2 separate regions of the Homo sapiens genome follow, and region 2 is linked to region 1. Evidence: promoter capture Hi-C in 16 types of primary human blood cells and fetal thymus (Javierre and others, 2016). All regions are on one chromosome and are shown on one strand. Each heading gives the region's core, a stretch centred on a gene start or on the middle of the fragment in contact. The rest is flanking DNA. Distances are from core to core; before and after follow the strand shown. Region 1 holds the start of PDCD4-AS1 (PDCD4 antisense RNA 1). Region 2 holds the start of NHLRC2 (NHL repeat containing 2).

Region 1 (6,631 bases), core at 4,132-6,631:
CATAATGGCAGCTATGTGCACTCAGGGCAGCTGGAGAAAAGAGGATTAATTCTGAGACATGTGAAGCCTAGCCCAGGATCCAGTGTTCCAGAAGAATGCGAATAAAGCCCCGAGAGATACAACTGGAGGAGCACTTCTCTACCCTGACTCAACACTATTAAATGCAGGGCGTGGCAGTTATAATAAATGCTGAAAAGCATCGGGTGGAATGGTCTGTGTTTGCAAAAGTCTAATGAACTGGAGTTTGCAAAGGCTTAGAACTTAGGCCAAGTATAGGAGATGTGGTAAAATTTGTGTTTTGGCGGGGGATATGGTGCGGGAAAGATTTCTTGCTGGAGTTCCTCAATGTTAATTGAGCTTTTTTTCTAAATCTCTAAGGTGGTAGGAGTGATTTGAGGGGGGGAAACCCCATAAAAGACAAATGTACTAAGAAAACCTTTCGAAACCTGAATTGAGGAAATAAAATCTTAGTAGTCTTTCAATTTTTCTTGGTACATACCACAGTAAAATATTGCATCTATTTTTTGAACTATGCTTCACATTACTCTGTGCTTGCTTTTTACCCCAGGAAAGACATGCAAGAAATGCCCCTTGAAGGGTTTCTAAACGTTGTACAATGCTTACTACCCTTTCCCTCTTCCCCACTTTCAGGCCCCTGAGATGGATTCATCTGATACCAGGAGCCTCTAGGACCCAGAAATTTAACTGTCAATCAAGAGGCATGTGAGGGAAAGTCCAGCCCAGCCTGGGTGCCAGAAGGTCTGGATTCCTGGTCTGCACATTCCCTACAACTCTGGGCAGAGATCTCATATGTACTTCTGGCTCAGCTACTAACTTAGCTGTGTGGCTTTAGGTGACCCACTTAACTTCTCTGAATCTGTTTCTCCATTTGTAAAATAAAAGGTTTGGACTAGGGAATCCCCAAATTTCCTTTCAGTATAAAAGTTCCATGATTACCAGTGACCTGCTCAAGGTTCATTATTTCCCTCATGTTTAAAGCACAGAATCTTGTCCACTTCATAGGGAGGTGGTGAAAGTCTATGCACATGTGCTCAGTAAATCTTAGGCCAACACAAATGTCAGCTATCATCATTATTATAAGAATTCTTTATGCAGCTCTTTCTTCAGAACATGTTTTATATCTTTTACCATTTGTGCTAAAGTGCAATTTTTGCCTTAGAGAAATTCTCAAAATTCAGGCTTTGGTTTGACAAAAGGAGACAAGGCGTCAGTTCAGGTAGATGAAGTTGCTGCAAATGACAGCAGCATCTAAAATTTCTTAGGAAGGAAGTGGGCTAAGACCTACCCTTAGCCCCCAGAAAGACAAATTCTCCTCAATTTCATTTAGGGGCATGACCATTTCTTATTAAGAAACAGAACTCTCAAATGAGGCTTTACCCTAAGAATGAAAAGGCCTTGGAGAGTTCCAAAGGCATTAATAGTAAATCTAGGTGCTTATCTTTTGCCTTCAACTGTGCTTTTTCAAGTACTTTACCCAAATTAATTAATTAGTGCTCCTAAACCCACACCAGCCATCACTTTGCCTTTGGGATGGAGGGAGGTGATATTATCTGAGCTTTGCATTAGGAGAAAGCCCCTGGGTTGACAGTCCCTCTGTCCATACCCGGTGGAATCCTCTCCTGCCAACAGTGGCAAACTCCTTTGTTTGTTTGTTTTGAGGTGGAGTCTGTCTCTGTCACCCAGGCTGGAGTGCAGTGGCGGGATCTCAGCTCACTGCAACCTTCGCCTCCTAGGTTCAAGAGATTCTCCTGCCTCAGTCTCCTGAATAGCTGGGACTACAGGCATGCACCACCACGCCCAGCTAATTTTTTTGTATTTTTAGTAGAGATGGGGTTTCACCATGTTGGTCAGGCTGGTCTCAAACTCCTGGCCTCAAGTGATCCGCCCACCTTGGCCTCCTAAAGTGCTGGGATTACAGGCATGAGCTACCACACCCGGCCAGCAAACTTTCTTATCTCTTGTTCTCCATTCCCAGGACTCCCATGGTACCAACTCAGTACCTTGCTCAGCATCCCAGGGTGTTAGAACTGAATGGCTGCTTATGGACTCCCTGCAATGGGCACCTCCTTCTTTTACAGCACAGAAAATTGAAGCATTCAATTCACTCAGGGAGAGGAAGTGAAACACCCAAAGCAACACAGCTAGTTAGGGACAGGGTCACTACCTTGTCTTAAGAGGCGAAAAATAGGAACTATCTCCCACCCTCTCCCCTGACAAAACCAAACACTCTTTGCGCCCCTCCAAGTATCTCAATACTGCTTAAGCCTGAGGAGTACGGGGAAGATGAAGTATGTAACGTTTATCTACTCACAAAGCACAGAGTTTCTGTTGCCACCTCTGAGCAGCTGTCTTGTTCTGGGCAACTGTGATCTCCCTTCCTCTCCTAAGCTCTTGGAATGAATCTTTCTTAAGGGAAATGGAAGTTGCAATTCCATTATTCTGTATAGAGTGAGTTAAGGGGAAGGCCTCTCTCCTTTTCTGTCATCTAATAGCTAAATTAACATAAGCCCATAGGCACAGGGATTCAGGTAACAGAAACCTAGTTTGTGACAATTACAACGTGAAATGAAAACATACATTGTGGCCCAGAAGCCCGGGCAGCCCTAGGCTTCAGATATTACCTACCCTAAAGTAGTATAATGCCTTTTACCAAGAACACAGCTGAATCAACTGTGCTTTTCATAGAACAGGCACACACTAAAATATTTGTGGATTGATTTGGTAGGCAAAAATTCTTGGCACTTGGATACTTCTCCATTTTCAGCTTATTCTTAAAAAAATTTTTTTTGTTAAATGTTCAGCTGCAAAGGCACAGGTGACTAAGTGTTCAACACAGCTGGAAGGAATGTTGGTGACAGTGGCTGTCATCTATATTTCCCAAGTTGGTTTCTAAATAACACTGCTTCTGGGGTATCTTGAGAAAAAAAGGTTCTGTGTTTAAACAAGGTAGGAAACATTACTAATCTTCCTACCTTGGTCTCCCAAGACACTAAAGGCACATAGCTTATTAAAAACACTGAGAAGGCTGGGCACGGTGGCTCATGCCTGTAACCCCAGCACTTTGGGAGGCCGAGGAGGGCAGATCACTTGAGATCAGGGGTTCGAGACCAGCCTGGCCAACATGGTGAAACCTCAACTCTACTACAAATATAAATATTAGCCAGGCGTGGTGGCAGGCGCCTATAATCCCAGTTACTGGGGAGGCTGAGGCAGGAGAATCACTTGAATCCAGGAGGCACAGGTTGCAGTGAGTCAAAATAGTGCCATTACACTCCAAACTGGGCGACAAGAGCAAAACTTCATCTCAAAAAACAAACAAACAAACAAAAAACCACTGAGAAGAGTTGTGGGTAAAGAAACAGTTTTATTTTTGTTTAAACGAGTTATTTCCAAGACCATTTGACCATGGAACAATCCCTCCCACATTTTTTTTTGCATGATATCTATTAAAGTTCCACAAAATTCATGTTCTTTGGAAAATAACTTGGGAATTACTGATTGAGCCCAATTTCTGAATTTTATTGGTAAAGAAAAAGGTCCTGAGAGGGGCTGAAGTTCTTACAGGAAGTTAGTGGGGGAGGTAGGACGACAACCCTATTTCCTGAGTGTCTGGCCCAACCTTGTCAACCACACGCAAATACGGCAGCATTCTCAAAGGTGGGTTCTGGGATCCCAGCCATCATGGGTACTGCTTGAGATGATACGCAAAAAGGACATGAACGTTTTCCTCCCTAATGGGTCCTTTGGGGGCAATTTGCTAAAACATAACAGGTTGTTTTAGATGCTTCTTAAAATTGGTAATCATATCCCATTCTTTCTTTATCTCATAGAACTCGGGATGCCTACCCAACACAGCCTGATTATGCTATATGTGCTTAGTAAGTACATTCAATGAATGACTAAATGAAAGACAGGGAGGAAGAAGGAAACAGTCCAGAACTGAAAGGGATGAGAAGAGAAAAAATGTGGAGAAAGAGAAGGATGGGTAACAAAGGAGCCAGCAGTCACTGATCAGTAGAGTATAGGTGAGAGAGGGGAAAGGAGACAGCTGCAGATAATGGAAAATAACAAAACAAAACTGAGGTCTGGGAAGCTCCGATTTTAAAAAGTGAACATGAGTTATGAGACTAATTCAGATACTGGCCACACCAGGAGGCCCCCGCCCAGGAGATGAGGATGACCACCAACTGCTGAGAATCTTTGTAAACTCAAATCAAGGTGTATTTATTGCACAGGCACAATAAATGAACAAGGCATCTTAAGTACTACAATGACAGGTGAGTGGGTCAGGCACAGTGGCTCACGCCTGTAATCCCAGCACTTTGGGAGGCCGAGGCAGGCAGATCCCTTGAGCTCAGGAGTTCAAGAGAAGCCTGGGCAACATGGCAAAACCCCATCTCTACTAAAAATACAAAAAACTAGCTGGGTGTGGTGGCACAGGCCTGTAGTCTCAGCTACTTGGAAAGCTGAGGTGGGAGGATGGCTTGACCCCAACAGGTTGAGGCTGCAGTGAGCCAAGATTGCACCACTGCTCTCCAGCCTGGGCAACAGGGCAAGACCCTGTCTCAAAACAACAACAACAACAAAATCACAGATGAGTAAGACACAGGTCTTTCCCTAAACAAGGTTACAGTCTAATGGGCAGAAGGGCTAGGACAGGGACTCAGATGAAATAATGCCAGGTAGAATGTGATCAGTGCCCCTGGAGGTGTGGCAAGCCAACACTGTGAGGAATCAGCGGCAGGAAGATCATATCAAATCACGAGGCTCCAGAAAAACTACGAGGGTCCAGGAATGGTGGCTCACGCTTGTAATCTCAACGCTTTGGGAGGCAGAGGTGGGCTGATTGCTTGAGCCCAGGAGTTCAAGACCAGCCTGGACAACATGATGAAACCCTGTGTGTACAGAAAATACAAAAATTAGCTGGGCATAGTGAGCTGTGCCTGTAGTCCCAGTTACTCAGGAGGCTGAGGTGAGAGGATCGTTGAGCTAGGGAGGCTGACGGAGGTCGAGGCAGCAGTGAGCTGTGATCATGCCACTGCATTCTCCTGGGCTAAAGGGCAAGCCCCTGCCTCAATTAAATAAAACAACAACAACAACAAAATAAAAAACTACCAGGAAGGGCCATGAGGCACAGAAGGATTGCATCAGGCGGAGATAGGAGATGAGAAGAGAGACATTTCAAGGTGATATATAAAGAACTACCAGGGGGTGAGGAAGCATATGGGGAGATGTGTGGAGACACAGCCTGAAAGTCTTGAAGTCACATCACGGAGCCTTGAATGACCGACCGAGGCGCTGACACTCAAGAGAGGCAATGGGAAGCCAGTGAAGGTTTGTGTGTGTGTGTGTGCGTGTGTGTGCAGAGAAATAGTAGCATTAGAGATGATTCCCAGGCAGGGTGACTGGGCAGCCAAGGGAAAGCGCTGGCCTGTGCGGGATGAGGCAGTTGGGTTCTGGAGAGCACAAGCAATCATTCGGTGCTGCCCATCAGACAACTGAAAAATCTGATCAGAGGCAGTGGCTAAGTCCCCGCCTGGGAACACAAAGGAAGCCTAAGGTTCTGGTTATCACCCTCAGGGGACCGTGACCTTGAAAGAGTAAGGATAGTACCAGCCAAAACCAATGCAGCCAAGAGGAAAAGTCACAGAGAACAGCGAGGGGAGGTGGAAGTTTCAATACAGAAATTGTAGCCATGGCTGAGAACCCCAGCACTGGAGGCCGGAATTTGTGCGTTTGAACGCCAGAGGCTTGGCTAGTCATGATTAGCAAAGGAACTTCAAAGAGTTTTGGAGCCTGCTTTATATCTGTGAAATGGGAATTATTTCCATCTCAAAGGTTTGAGGGGATTCGCTGAGAGAAACTTCTTAGCATGGGATCTCCAGAAACTGGAAGCCACAGAGAAAGCAGCGGCCAGAGGGAGGAGGAATCGGACAGGCTGATCACTTGGAGTGTTCGCCTAAGCAGTTTCTAGAAATGGAGGCAGGGACCATCAGGAAGCTCAAAACCTTTGCTTCAGCCGAGTTTGCAGAACGCCCTGTGAGGAGAATGGGTGAGCTGGGTCGAGGAAGCTTCATCCTCGTCCCCATCCCCCAGCACTGCCCTTTTCCCAACGCTCCCATCCCGCCACGCCTCCCAACATACCCCCACCCCGACTTCCCGCTCAACTCCCGCTCCAGCCAGTCCCAGGAGCCACATGCGCATGCGCCCTCCCGCGCCCCTCCCCAACTTTCCACGTTTCACTCCTCTCCCTTTTCCTCCTCAGCTCCGGCTCCGCCGCCACGATTGGCCAGCCGACCACCCGGCCTCGGCCAATAAGCGCCGCCCTCTCGCCCCCGTGTTACTGGGTAGAAGAAAACAAAAACAAACAGAGCGAGAAGGGCCAGAGACTCTCCGAGGCGGCGGCAGAGACAGAAGAGCGGGGTCGGGGCCGGCTGACCAGGAACCTGGGCGAGCAGCGGCGGGGGCCCGAGGGGTCAGTACCAGTAGGCGCGGCTCACACGCTCGGGAAGACTGCGCCCTCTCCCCCATCCCTCCTCGGAGGCAGCCGCAAGATGGGAGGGGGCGGGGGCGGAGGCGTGGGGGTCGCGGTCCTGTCAGGTCCGGGCCT
Region 2 (7,269 bases), core at 3,322-5,821, 3.0 Mb after region 1:
GTCTGACAACCTGCATTTCCAAGGGGCACTTCATGGTCCTTCACCTCTTTAGCTTCTGCGGCTCTTTTTCTGTTTCTACTCCGTTTTGACTGGTATTTTCCATCTGTTGCTTTTTCAACAGATTTTAGAATATTTTTAGAGCCATTATTTGGATCAACTCGTTTTGGTTTTCTTTTAGATTTGTATTCCCAAATGTCTTCTTCGGAAATGTCTTCTAACATGGCAAAATGATTTTATCATTCAAGAAGTATTAATCTTAAGTAAACTGAAAGTCCATTTCTTGTCACAAACAAAAAGTTATAGAATTATTTTGCTGAGAAAAAAAACAAAGGTAACAAAACCCCCACCAACTCAATGGGAATCTGCAGTGTTGGTAATGAACATATTGGCAAGCTACAAACCTTGTACCTGACAACACCTGCTATTCCATTTATACCACAATGAAACTAAGATAAACCTATCACAGGAGTAGCAACTGTGAAGTTCTCCATTATGGGTGCTATTTCATTCAAATATCTTGTCCTTTTCCAGGGCTTGATTCATAAAAATAATACTTCAAAAATTAAGCGCTAATGGCAAATATAGGTTCAACAGCTTAATCTTAGAACGAGATTTGTAACATTGTTATGAAGCTACTGTCAGTTCTTTCAAGTGGACAACCGTCCAAATAATTCATAAATCCAACCACAGTCCCTGGACAAAGGGCTTAACAGGTATCCCAAACACTAAATGACTATCTAACAAAACTAGTCACAACATAATCAAAGAGATGTGTAATTCGCAAAAAACTGCGAAGTCACTGCCCTCATCCACGACTAGTGGATACTCAACCACTTCAGTTTCCCGCGACAGTCCATGATCTTCCTCCAGCAGCAATGAACAATCCCTGCACAGTGAACAAAAAAAGTTGATATGTGAAAAAAGTTCAAATATGTGAAAGAGTGGGCTTGTATTGAGGTCTGACTCCGTATTGCACCCATGGTTCCGAAGGTGGCCAGCCCTCTGTCCACCTGACTCAAAACGGGGTCACACGCCAGCCTCTCCCTTATCTTTTGGCATTAGAGGCTGGGAGGCCAGGAAGCGGGGCCTTAATCATCTCCAGGTTAAGCATAGCGAGCTCCAAAAAGCCCTCAGAGTCCTGCCCTTCTGAAGACTCTAAGGCCCGCCCTCAAGGACCCTCACCGCCCCCCACCTGCCACTCGGCACCCCAAGGGAGCCGCTCCAGCTGCATCCGCTCCTCCCGGCACCCCCATCTAAAAATGTGTTCGCGCCCGCACTTTCAGCACTCCCAGATGACAAAACGCTGTGTTTGTGTATAAGTGAAAGCCACTCGCGCCAGTCACTTCCAGTTTACAAAGCCTTCTCTCTGGAGGTTATCCCTACCCGCTTTACCTTTAGGGTCTTGGCGGGAACAAGTTCCCGCTGCCAGTGCCGTGTCGAATCGGCGGATGCTGTTCAAAGAGAGAGACTTTAAAAATAATTTTTAAAAATACATTGCCCTTTTAAGTCCTACGGATTTATTGTATTTTATTTGTGTTCGAAAGTCCGCTAATTCCCAATGTGGAGGGTTGGGGATGTTTCCCTTAGCGCCTCTGGGACGCTGTCCCTAAGGCCTTATTCCATGTTGAATCTGACGCTCTCAATGTCCAGGCTCGGCTGCGGCGTGGGGACCGAAAAGGGGCGGGGTGGGTCGGACGGCAGTTTAATTACGTCCCCGGGAACTGCGCCGATTTGGACTTTTGGCACTTGGACCTATGCTTTAAAAAGAAAAAAGTGTCATTGGCGTGGAGTGGGGCTAGTGGAGGGTGAGGTGAATGCGCCGTTTGGAAACCACAGGACAGTGAACGTTTCGTCTCTCCCAGCGAGACTCTCCCGCGGGCCCGGCGGCCGCATCGGGAGCCCGGCGGAAACATGGCGGCGCCCGGAGGCCGGGGCCGCAGCCTCTCCGGCCTGCTCCCCGCGCAGACCTCGCTAGAGTACGCCCTGCTCGACGCCGTTACCCAGCAGGAGAAGGACAGCCTGGTCTACCAGTATCTGCAGAAGGTGGACGGCTGGGAGCAGGACTTGTCAGTACCCGAGTTTCCGGAAGGTGAGGGGCTGGCGTCGGGGTGGGGGCCCCTCCCGGCACCTCCCCTTCCTCGGGGACGGCGCCCTCCCGCGAAGCGGTGGGCTAGGCGGGTTTGTGCCGCTGGCGCCCCGGGGAGTGGCCCTTCGCCTAACTTGGGCCGCTGTTCGCGTGTTCTGCAATTCCCAGGGGTCCCCAAGCGGCCACCGACGGGGGTTTCCCTGGCACGGGGATCCACATACTCGTCTGTGTATCCTGAGTTCCGCCCGCGCCTGATATTAGCCAAGTGGACACTCCGTGAATATTTAGTGTCCCCGGTGGCAATGATTGCAACGTCCACACCATTCTGTCCATTCAATCTGGTTCCCCAGTGTCTTCTGGTCATCTTTCTGCATCATCTTGACATTTATTGATCACTTTTTCATGTATCACACACAGGGTTTTTTTTTGTTTTTTTTTGATACGGAGTCTCGCTCTGTCTCCCAGGCTGGAGTACAGTGGCGTGATCTTGGCTCACTGCAACCTCCGCCTCCCAGGTTCAGGCGATTCACCTGCCTCAGCCTCCGGAGTAGCTGGGACTACAGGCCCGCGCCACCACGCCTGGCTAGTTGTTTTGTTTTGTTTTGTTTTGTTTTGTTTTGTTTGTATTTTTAGTAGAGACGGCGTTTCACTATGTTGGCCAGGCTGGTCTCGACCTCCTGATTTCAAGTGATCCTCCCGCCTCCGTTTCCCAAAGTGCTGGGATTACAGGCGTGAGCCACCGCGCCCGGCCTGCCACACACAGTCCTAAACACTTGAGGGGATACCTAAACACTTGAGGAGATATTACCTTATTCAATTACCTCTATATCCCAGTGAGGTGCTCCTATCATTCCCCTTTCACAGTTGAGGAAATGGAAGCACAGAGAGGTTAAGTCACATGCCCAGGGCCTCACAGCTGATAACTGCCCCAGTTGGATTATACAGGCCCTGGATTTGCTGGTTTCTTAGCTGTACTGTGCTTCTCCGTTCAAAGTCGTGAAACTAATACTTTTAAAAATCGGAATCAATTATAGCCTATTTCCAGGGTTTAAATCCTGGCCATGTGAGCTTTTGGAGCATGAAGGAACAGATATTCCCGGCAGGGATGTTTGTGAAGCATATCTTGCCATGATAAATGAAAACGTATTTTACCTTCTTTGGATGGGAGTAGCATTGCTTTGCCTGATGGTGCTGGCATGTGTCCTGGCGTGACACTGAAACCACATGTATAGTTAATTGGTTGGATGTGGCAGAATTCAGTTATCTCATGGGAGGTATATCGGAACCTGCCTCCGACAACAGAGTATTGGTGTCTTTCCAAGTCTTTTGCACTACTCACCTTGAGAAGTGCTTATTTTTCCTGCTATTAATCTTATACTGGATTTGAAATATTGTGGAATTCTTACAAAAGAATTGGGTACATGAATGCTTATCCCATCAAACTTTAAAAGATTGTTTACATCTATACAAATATATGATTTTAAAAAGTTTTGGTGCAGAAGGTAGTTATATAGTAAGTACACTGTTATAAACAAGCAGGCCATCAACTGGGATTTGGGGAATGTTTTTTATTTTCTAGTCTTGTTTGTATTTACAGGGAGTGTATTTTATTCCCATGAGATTTGACCTCTGTGACTCATAACTAAAAAAACATATAATAAAATATTCAGGCTTTGTGTTTAACACAGTATGATTTTCTCCTGGACCCGATTATTGAGGACAGAATGCTAGAAATGACTGTTTTCTTGGTTTCTTTAGCAGTAAACTATAATCAGGAAGTCATAAACATAACTTTATTTGAAAAACTGTATGCTTTGTTCATTTCTTAGAAGACTTACATGTTTATAGGAGACAGTGCAGTGTAATGGATAGATTCACAGAGACCTGGAATTAGATCCTTGTTATTTCCATTTTGTTGGTTGTGTGATTTTGAGCAAGTTACTTGACCTCAAAGCCTTATATTTCTCACTTGCAAAACTGAACTATTATTTACCTTTCAGGATTATTATTTGTATTGAAAGTAATATATGTAAAATTCTTAATTCACAGAAAAGCTTACTAAATGTTAGCAGCTTTTTATTGTATTCATTGTAATTATTGTTATTGTAAAATAAATTTTATTAAGCCTGGTAAGTATCTAGCACGGTGACTAAGATGTAGTCATTCTTTCTATACCCCCTGATCTAAGCCACTCTTGACTATTTACAGAAAAGTCACAGAAGACAGATTAATAAATATTTTGCAAGTAGGATATGAAATATACATTAATTAGTCTGAAGTTTTGTATGATCACTTGATCTGGTATATAATTAATATTTTAACAAAATGGATAATTAAGAGGTCACTGTACCCTGAAACCTCATTAGTTTGGACTAATTGGCCCAAATACTAGTTTGATCTGCAGATTTTTTTTTCTAGAATTTTGTTATGATTGAGTAACAACAGTTATTGTTGTTAATCATTAGCTGTTACTGTTTACTTCTTCCTCCCAAGTTTGGCTTTCAGTTGCTAAAAGCTATTCTAAATACCTGCTTCAAGGCATAATTAATAGTTGTAATAGCTGCATTGAGTTATTTATAAGCAGTAAACTTTGTTTTCTTAAATTGGTTAAATAGGGATGCTGTACTTTATTATTAGTTAACAAAATCTTTCTTCATAGTACAGAGCTTTCTTTTTTTGGAGGAAAGGGAACACGTTCTTCATTAATATTAATGTTACCTCAATGAAATCTGTGACAATAATAAGTGTATTTTGCTTAACTTTACATTTAGCATATTTTATTTTGTATTTACGGTCTCATCCAAATCCAGAATATTTCAGTTTCTTCTCCTTTAGGAAACTGTTTTAGGCATTTTGTATGTTTATCCTTACACACATTTCACTCCTTTTTGATGTTTAGTTATATCTTACTATTCTTAAGCTTGACCTTTATTCTCAGTAGCCCATTTGTATCTAATTGTTTATGTAATTAGGTTCATTTACTATTTGATATTTCTTCCTTTTTTTTTTTTTTTGCCTAAGTGTGTTGCCTTTACTCCTTTTCACAGACTGTTACCCTATTTCTGAAAGAATTTAGTAGCTTTTTCTTGCTTTATTTGCAGATGGCATCATAATAGCAGCTTTCCCATCCTCTACTCCTCCTGCTCCCCCACCCGTACCCCCATCCCTTCCTTTTCTTTCTTCCCTTTTTGGGCTTTTAATCTCTGCTAATTTGCCTTTTTGGTATGTTCTTCCAAACCCAAATACCTGTTTAGTTACAGTCATAAAGATATATCTTTTATTTCTTTTGTTGATAGAAAATGATGGTTCATAGTAAACAACTATAAATACATGCAACTGCCACAGCCTTTATATGGTGCTACTCTCTCAAAGTGTTTATTTGCATTAGTCTTAAAAAAAAAGGTCACATTTTAATGGAAAGTTTTAGGTAAATTTTATCTTTCTCTTTAATCATTGTAATTTATTTTATGTAAATTTCAGGATTAGAATGGCTGAACACAGAAGAACCTATTTCTGTCTACAAGGATCTATGTGGAAAAATAGTCGTCCTTGATTTCTTCACCTACTGCTGCATAAACTGTATTCACCTATTGCCTGATCTCCATGCATTAGAACACACATACTCTGATAAAGGTATCTGCTCTTTAATTAGTTTCTAACAGACTGTCCTGGCATAGTCACTGGAAGAGTGGCTGACTCATTAGCTCATAGGAGAATGAACATTTGGCAAGGCTTCAGGGATTCTAAAAGTAATCTCTTATCTATGAATTAAAGACTTCATGTACCTTTTCATAAAGGATTAAGCTTAGTGATAGTGGTTTGCCTATCTAAAGAACCAGCATTTAGTATATGGTTTTTCTCTGCGGATAGGGGCATAATTTGCTATTTTTCATGATCAGATATTTTAAAAGGTCTTTTTGTATGTTGAGGCTGACTTAAATTTGTTCTATTAAAAAAATAAAATATCTGACCTTAATTTTACACTGTTTTCACTGTGATACAAAGGTTTAAAGTTCTTATTAGGAAATGTGACTAGGCTTTCATTAATATTGAATGACATGAACTGCAGTGGAATGCAAAATATAACAGATACTCTTTCTTTGACCCTGCTTCATTAAAAAATGATTTATTACAGCTAATGTTTTTCAAAGCACACTAGGAAATCCATTTTTATGGTATTACAAATTCTAAAGATGTAGGAGATTATACTTATTGGCTTTAGAAGTTTGAAAAATTAATCAAATTTTTTTTGTCTACTTTCTAAAAAAAGAACATGGGAGTAAATGAAATTAATTAAAAGTATCATTTAATTAGGTTCAAGTGAATTGAAGCACTAATCTTGGAGTGGATAAAAAAAAGAGATAGGGTCACCGATCCTGTGTTAGTAAAGATGAGAATAGACTATATACGTGTGAAAGTAAAGGATATTCTGAAACTTAACTTTAAAGGGGAAGTGATAGAGAAATCTTCAGTGCAACTGAAACTTCAGATGCTTTTGAATTGTAATACATTGTATGTTAAAATTACCAGTCAAATGATTTATCAAGAACTCAAATATTTCTACTAGCTAAATCCTGTTATTAAAAATTTATCTGTATGGATTTAAGAAATATGGATATCTTATCTCCTAGGTTTTAGATGCCAGTGTTTCTTGTTCAAGACATCACGTTTATTGAACATGTTGTTATGTGCAGGGTACTCTGCTAACTGCTGAGGAAATATGTAACAAAATTGAATAAAAAACATTATGGAACCTAAGGAAAGGAATAAGTCACTTTGCCTAGAAACATTGGAAAAGATTTCTCAGAGAAGGAGACAATTGAGCTAGAACTTGAAAAATAAGCAGGAGTGCAGCTGAAAATGAAAGTGGGGCAGAAGGGACACTCCTGGCTGAGGAAGCTTCAGGTAAACAAGCATGGAATCACAGAGGAGTAGGATTCTTGCTCCAAGAACAGGTAAATAATTTAGTGTGGCAAGATTGTAAGAGTTCATGGTAAAAGTAAAAGGAGACAAAGGTAGGTTAGGTTAGGAGCACATTGTGAAATGCATTGTATAGCGTTCTTAATAGTTTAGACTTTTCCTTCTGTGAGGATACAGAGATTGAAGTTTGTTTTTGATTTGTTTTTTTAGTAGACGGATGACATTTGTGTTTTAGAATGGCATTACACATGGAGTTAAGAATC

What was found. The method cuts DNA at HindIII sites, captures the fragments that hold promoters and counts their contacts. A CHiCAGO score of 5 or more calls a contact.
Region 2: a contact is called between a fragment that was not itself captured here and the fragment with the promoter of PDCD4-AS1 in region 1, in 1 of 17 cell types (erythroblasts). The highest score is 7.8, in erythroblasts.

What each region holds. Positions count from the first base shown.
Region 1 is chr10:110,865,523-110,872,153 of GRCh38, forward strand. It overlaps PDCD4-AS1 (PDCD4 antisense RNA 1), which reads right to left and starts at 5,382. Exons shown (of 1, transcript NR_026932.1): 1 at 3,368-5,382. It overlaps PDCD4 (programmed cell death 4), which reads left to right and starts at 6,406. Exons shown (of 12, transcript NM_014456.5): 1 at 6,406-6,496. It overlaps LOC124902500 (a long non-coding RNA gene), which reads left to right. Exons shown (of 2, transcript XR_007062288.1): 2 at 652-926. RefSeq lists enhancers at 2,027-2,076, 4,904-5,514 and silencers at 2,197-2,266, 6,519-6,568, 6,599-6,631. The HindIII fragment of the contact is 8,654 bases long and covers 1-6,090 here.
Region 2 is chr10:113,852,962-113,860,230 of GRCh38, forward strand. It overlaps NHLRC2 (NHL repeat containing 2), which reads left to right and starts at 1,700. Exons shown (of 11, transcript NM_198514.4): 1 at 1,700-2,089; 2 at 5,567-5,719. The coding sequence starts at 1,912. It overlaps LOC124902506 (a long non-coding RNA gene), which reads left to right and starts at 5,726. Exons shown (of 2, transcript XR_007062295.1): 1 at 5,726-7,041. DCLRE1A (DNA cross-link repair 1A) reads right to left here and starts at 1,121. Exons shown (of 9, transcript NM_014881.5): 1 at 1-1,121. The coding sequence starts at 221. RefSeq lists a silencer at 1,810-2,169 and an enhancer at 2,180-2,884. The HindIII fragment of the contact is 866 bases long and covers 4,139-5,004 here.